Linked DNA regions of Homo sapiens: region 1 is linked to region 2. The links are contacts of gene promoters, found by promoter capture Hi-C in blood cells and fetal thymus (Javierre and others, 2016). All regions are on one chromosome and are shown on one strand. Each heading gives the region's core, a stretch centred on a gene start or on the middle of the fragment in contact. The rest is flanking DNA. Distances are from core to core; before and after follow the strand shown.

Region 1 (3,178 bases), core at 570-3,069, 380 kb after region 2:
TGCTGCCTGGAAGCTTATTTTCCCGTGGCCAGGACGCATTTCTCTGAGTGGAAACAGGTTCTTGCATGTGGATGTGTGTTTCCCCAGGCAGACGGCCCCTCTCTTCCCAGCACTTCCCTGCCTCCCCCAGGCCTCAGGCCCAGCACCCAGTTCCTCCTCACATGGCAGGTGAGCACAGACTTCTAGTTGGCAGGAGCTGAGGAGGGTGAACAAACCCCGAGGGAGGCCCGGCCCTTGCTCCCGAGTTGGGGGGAGGGGGTGTGGCAACGTGCCCCCCGCAGAGGCCACGCATGTTTGACCAAAGCCCTCATTGTGGTCCGAGGACAGCCTTTTCCCCAGGCCTCAGAGCATTGCTCATCCGTGCCAAACTGGGTAGGTGGATTTGAGCGGAAAGACTCCCAAAATGTGCCAAGAATTTCCCAGTCCCAGGCAGGGCAGGGGAAACTAAGGGCAAGCAGGATACAGGGCGAGGGATGTGGCAGGTGAGGGGGCTCCCGCCTGTGCCCCTTCTCCTCACCATGTCTCCCCCACCCTGCCTCAGTTCTCCGTTCCCCTTCATCTCCGTCCCCCTCTTTGAAGCTGTCCCCATCTCAGTGTCAGACCAGCCTTCTCCTCAGCTGACCACCCTCCTCTGACCCACGCCCCCTCCTTGTCTGAAAGAAAGGAGCCTTGAATGGTGGAGGGAGGCAGTGGGGAGAAAGGTCTCACCGGACAGGTTGGGAGAATGAGGTCAGCGGTGCTGGGGAACAGATGGAGGGGGCAGTGGGGACAGGGCTTGGGCAGACACCAGCAGGAATAATTTGAAATGTGTGAGGTGACTCCCCGGAGGGCCTTGGGCTTGGGCATTTGGGAAAAGAATGATGTCTGGAAGGGCTTAAGGGACACAGTGGACGAGGGGAGAGTCCTCATCTGCTGGCATTTTGTGGGGTGTTAGTGCCAAACTTGAATAGGGGCTGGGGTGCTGTCTTCCACTGACACCCAAATCCAGAATCCCTGGTCTTGAGTCCCCAGAACTTTGCCTCTTGACTGTCCCTTCTCTTCCTACCTCCATCCATGGAAAATTAGTTATTTTCTGATCCTTTCCCCTGCCTGGTCTAGCTCCTCTCCAAACAGCCATGCCCTCCAAATGCTAGAGACCTGGGCCCTGAACCCTGTAGACAGATGCCCTCAGAATTGGGGCATGGGAGGGGGGCTGGGGGACCCCATGATTCAGCCACGGACTCCAATGCCCAGCTCCTCTCCCCAAAACAATCCCGACAATCCCTTATCCCTACCCCAACCCTTTGCGGCTCTGTACACATTTTTAAACCTGGCAAAAGATGAAGAGAATATTGTAAATATAAAAGTTTAACTGTTGGTTGTGCCTGCTCTGTTGTGGGGAGGGCGGTCTCTAAAGAAACAAGCCCTGGGGAAGTGACGAGGGAGGAGGGGTCTTTTCAGTGACCAGCTCTGAGGTCTGAGAGGAAGGGGGAGTGTGTGCTGGGGTCTGGTTGCCATGGTAATGGGTCTGTTTGGCAAATGAATGTCAGGACCCGTGTCTATGCCGAGACTGGAGCCTGGTGTCGTTCTATAATGGAAGGACAAAGGCTGATGGGGGCAGATGTCAAACAGGCCAGAGGCCCAGTGGGCTGGTGTAGGCAGCTAGCTCAGCAGAGGTATGTGAGGTGAGAGGCATGGCCTCTGCCAAGGCCTGGACTCAGGCGAGAGGGTCAGCCACGGGTCCAGGACTCAGGGTAGCCCCTTGGCACACTGGAAGGGAGTGGCCTGGCACCATTGTGACCCGTTCACTCCCAAGACCCTCAGGGACAGGCAGGCAGTCAGTGGACACTGTCGGCACGGTGGGCTGGGGGCGTAAGGGCCCCGGTGGTCCTAGGGACCCCATGGCCATGGTTGAGCGGCCGAGGCCCGAGTGGGCCTCGTATCACAACTGCAACAGCAACAGCTGCCAGGACCTGGGCAACTCTGTCCTGTTGCTGCTGGGCCTCATCATCTGCATTAACATTAGCATCAATATAGTGACCCTGGTCAGGGTGGGGCCAGATGGGAGGGAGCTGGTGGGATAGTGGGGGGCAGGCCTGCCGGCCAGGGCCTACCTGGGATCACTGTGTCTTCCCCCACCTAGCTCTGGAGCCGATTCCGTGGTGTCTTATACCAAGTGTTCCATGATACCATTTGTGAGAAAGGTAAGAGGTCTGGGGGCTGGGACATAGGAGGGGCAGAAACCAAGTGCTCTAGCCTCAGCCCTAAATTAGCCCCTTCCCTTCTTGCTCGCCCCTCTCAGACAACATAGCTGTGTGGCTGCCCTTCCTGGGCCCTGCCTCTCCATGCCTGTAGGAGCTGGCCTCCCCACTAGTCTCACCTCTCCCCCATCCACAGAAGCTCCCAAGTCATCATTACTCAGAAAGCAGACCCAGCCCCCTAAGAAGCAGAGTTCTCCTGCAGTCCATCTTCGGTGCACCATGGACCCTGTGATGATGACTGTGTCCCCGCCCCCAGCTCACCGCCATCGCCGTCGAGGCTCTCCCACACGCTGTGCTCACTGCCCAGTAGCTTGGGCTCCTGACACTGATGACGAGAAGCCTCATCAGTACCCAGCCATCTGCTCCTACCACTGGGATGTCCCTGAGGACTGGGAAGGCTTCCAACACACTCAGGGGACCTGGGTTCCCTGGTCTCAGGATGCCCCAGAGTCCCCTCCCCAGACCATCCGCTTCCAGCCTACCGTAGAGGAAAGGCCCCTCAAAACAGGCATATGGTCCGAGCTGGGCCTAAGGGCCTATGTGTATCCTGTGAACCCCCCACCTCCCAGCCCTGAGGCTCCTAGCCACAAGAACGGTGGGGAGGGGGCGGTGCCAGAGGCAGAGGCGGCTCAGTACCAGCCTGTCCCAGCTCCCACCCTGGGCCCAGCAGTCATCCCTGAATTTTCCCGGCACCGCTCCTCAGGCCGAATAGTGTATGATGCCCGGGACATGAGACGGCGGCTTCGGGAACTGACCCGGGAGGTGGAGGCCCTGTCCGGCTGCTACCCCCTAGCCTCTGGATCCAGCACTGCCGAGGAGACAAGCAAGAATTGGGTGTACCGTTCCCTAACTGGGAGGTGACTGGAAAAAAATAAAAAGGAGAGAGGAGGTGATCTGTGGTGGTGCTGGGGTGCCAGGGCCCACACAGCACCTAGAAG
Region 2 (3,154 bases), core at 378-2,877:
CCTGCTCCTTCCAAAGGGTTCGGGGAGAAGCTGAGGGAAAGTTTAGCTAGCACCTGTACCCAGAAGGGAATTCTTAATAGGAATGACTAAAGCGACAAACATGGTGAGGAATTAGGAAATTCAAGGATGATGAAACCTGGCCGGGCACGGTGGCTCACGCCTGTAATCCCAGCACTTTGGGAAGCCGAGGCGGGTGGATCACGAGGTCAGGAGTTTGAGACCAGCCTGGCCAACATGGTGAAACCCCGTCTCTACAAAAATACAAAAATTAGCCGGGCCTGGTGGCGCTAATCCCAGTTACTCGGGAGGCTGAGGCAGGAGAATCGCTTGAACCCGGGAGGCGGAGGTTGCAGTGAGCCAAGATCGCACCACTGCACTCCAGCCTGGGCGACAGAGCAAGATTCTGTCTCAAAAAAAAAAAAAAAAAAGATGAAACCAAGTATACAAGCCCAGAAGCCCAGGGCTAATGGGACTGGAGTGTAAAAGGAAGAATTACTATAAAATGGTGCTAGGGGCCAGGCACGGTGGCTCACGCCTGTAATCCCAGCACTTTGGGAGGCCGAGGCGGGCGGATCACGAGGTCAGGAGATCAAGACCATCCTGGCTAACACGGTGAAATCACGTCTCTACTAAAAACACAAAAAATTAGCTGGGCGTGGTGGCAGGTGACTGTAGTCCCAGCTACTCGGGAGGCTGAGGCAGGAGAATGGTGTGAACCCGGGAAGCAGAGCTTGCAGTGAGCCGAGATTGCACCACTGCACTCCAGCCTGGGCGACAGAGCGAGACTCCGTCTCAAAAAAAAAAAAGAAAAAAAAAGGTGCTAGGTACTGTGACTGTGAAATCGATATCATTATTGGATTTACAGCTGGGGAAAAGCTTTAAAGCTTATACAACTTGGCAAATGAAGGTCACACAGCTAGAAATGGTAGAGCCCAGGTCTAACTCCAAAGTTCTGTGCTAGTTACCTTACAAACTTTGTCTCTAATCTTCCACAATCCCAAAAAGTGTATTATTACATTTTGCAGTTGAGAAGGTTGAGGCTGGGGGTGTTAAGTAAAACACACAAGGTTACACAGCTATGAAGTATCCAAGCCAAGATTGTATCCCAGGTCTGTGGGACTCCGAAGCAAGTGCTACATTCTGCTGCTGGGCAATGCGGGGATTACTGTGTGCCTTGAGCTCCCTAAGAGTTCTCAACACCACTTCTTCCTTTTTGACAGGCTCTGGCTGGGCTTTGACCTTCGCTCCGACCCTGGCCTGCCTGTCCTGTTATTTCTCTCGCCGACGATCCCTGGCCACCGGGCTGGCACTGACAGGCGTGGGCCTCTCCTCCTTCACATTTGCCCCCTTTTTCCAGTGGCTGCTCAGCCACTACGCCTGGAGGGGGTCCCTGCTGCTGGTGTCTGCCCTCTCCCTCCACCTAGTGGCCTGTGGTGCTCTCCTCCGCCCACCCTCCCTGGCTGAGGACCCTGCTGTGGGTGGTCCCAGGGCCCAACTCACCTCTCTCCTCCATCATGGCCCCTTCCTCCGTTACACTGTTGCCCTCACCCTGATCAACACTGGCTACTTCATTCCCTACCTCCACCTGGTGGCCCATCTCCAGGACCTGGATTGGGACCCACTACCTGCTGCCTTCCTACTCTCAGTTGTTGCTATTTCTGACCTCGTGGGGCGTGTGGTCTCCGGATGGCTGGGAGATGCAGTCCCAGGGCCTGTGACACGACTCCTGATGCTCTGGACCACCTTGACTGGGGTGTCACTAGCCCTGTTCCCTGTAGCTCAGGCTCCCACAGCCCTGGTGGCTCTGGCTGTGGCCTACGGCTTCACATCAGGGGCTCTGGCCCCACTGGCCTTCTCCGTGCTGCCTGAACTAATAGGGACTAGAAGGATTTACTGTGGCCTGGGACTGTTGCAGATGATAGAGAGCATCGGGGGGCTGCTGGGGCCTCCTCTCTCAGGTAAGTGGAATGGGGTTCCCAGGGGGTGAGGGCTGCCATGTTGCACAACTAGGGGAGGGTACTATTCTCATTACAGTGTATGTGAATATTGCCCTCTGGTGTAGTACAGTACACAGCCTGCGTGGCCAACCATAGCATCCCTGAAATGGGTCCATGGGGCAAAGAACTTGGGGCTGGGAAAGTCTGAGTGGAAAGACAAAAAGAAGCTAAGTGGAACCCTTGGCAGGGTGCCTACGGCTTGGGTTTGCAGAGGACCTGGCAGAACCTGGCCAGACACAGACGTAGCATTCCAGTGTGCACCCTTTCCTTTGGCCTACTGGGCCCCAAACCAGGTATCTGAGGCACCTGGTCAAAGTTCTGCTGGCTCAGGGTGCCAGAACTTTCAGACCTTTATCTCCTCTTACCCATTAACTGAAGCTTTAGAAAGGCCACAGTTGGTGGGCGCCTGTAGTCCCAGCTACTCAGGAGGCTGAGGCAGGAGAATGGCATGAACCCGGGAGGCGGAGCTTGCAGTGAGCTGAGATCGCGCCACTGCACTTCAGCCTGGGCGACAGAGCGAGACTCCGTCTCAAAAAAAAAAAAAAAAGAAAGGCCACAGTTGCCAGAAAGAAAGGCACAAGTATGCCTGACTCAATCTGGATCTCCAAATCCCTGCAGGCTGGTTTGGAGGTCCTTTCTGAAGGCGGGGAGGTGGTTGAAATTAACTTTTGAGGCCCTTTTGGGAAACCAGAGTTCTTAAGTTTATCCAACTATTCCATGGGAGTTCCAACTCCTCTGAGATGATAAGTCTTCCCTCCACCCAAAAATGTATCTGAGCCCTCAGCCCCAGCAAATAGATCACTCATGTGTATTCTTTTTCTCTCTTGGACCTAGGCTACCTCCGGGATGTGACAGGCAACTACACGGCTTCTTTTGTGGTGGCTGGGGCCTTCCTTCTTTCAGGGAGTGGCATTCTCCTCACCCTGCCCCACTTCTTCTGCTTCTCAACTACTACCTCCGGGCCCCAGGACCTTGTAACAGAAGCACTAGATACTAAAGTTCCCCTACCCAAGGAGGGGCTGGAAGAGGACTGAACTCCACAGAGTCAGGCCCAGAAAGCCAAAGCTTGACAGCTCCAGGTCTTCTCTTGCCACGTCTTGGTCTCCACAGAACCACAGTGCCTTAAGATTCTTGATCTGCCTCCCCCTAGAGCAGGC

Evidence for each region. The method cuts DNA at HindIII sites, captures the fragments that hold promoters and counts their contacts. A CHiCAGO score of 5 or more calls a contact.
Region 1: a contact is called between the fragment with the promoter of SPEM1 here and a fragment that was not itself captured in region 2, in 2 of 17 cell types (M1 macrophages and M0 macrophages). The highest score is 6.1, in M1 macrophages.

What each region holds. Positions count from the first base shown.
Region 1 is chr17:7,418,505-7,421,682 of GRCh38, forward strand. SPEM1 (spermatid maturation 1) reads left to right here and starts at 1,820. Exons shown (of 3, transcript NM_199339.3): 1 at 1,820-2,024; 2 at 2,123-2,183; 3 at 2,377-3,128. The coding sequence starts at 1,881. The coding sequence ends at 3,101. NLGN2 (neuroligin 2) reads left to right here. Exons shown (of 7, transcript NM_020795.4): 7 at 1-1,356. RefSeq lists an enhancer at 1,304-1,823. The HindIII fragment of the contact is 12,172 bases long and covers 12-3,178 here.
Region 2 is chr17:7,036,932-7,040,085 of GRCh38, forward strand. SLC16A13 (solute carrier family 16 member 13) reads left to right here. Exons shown (of 4, transcript NM_201566.3): 3 at 1,221-1,958; 4 at 2,832-3,154. The coding sequence ends at 3,031. Among named protein-coding and RNA genes, the nearest start is that of SLC16A13, 2.5 kb to the left of the region's middle. The HindIII fragment of the contact is 1,491 bases long and covers 883-2,373 here.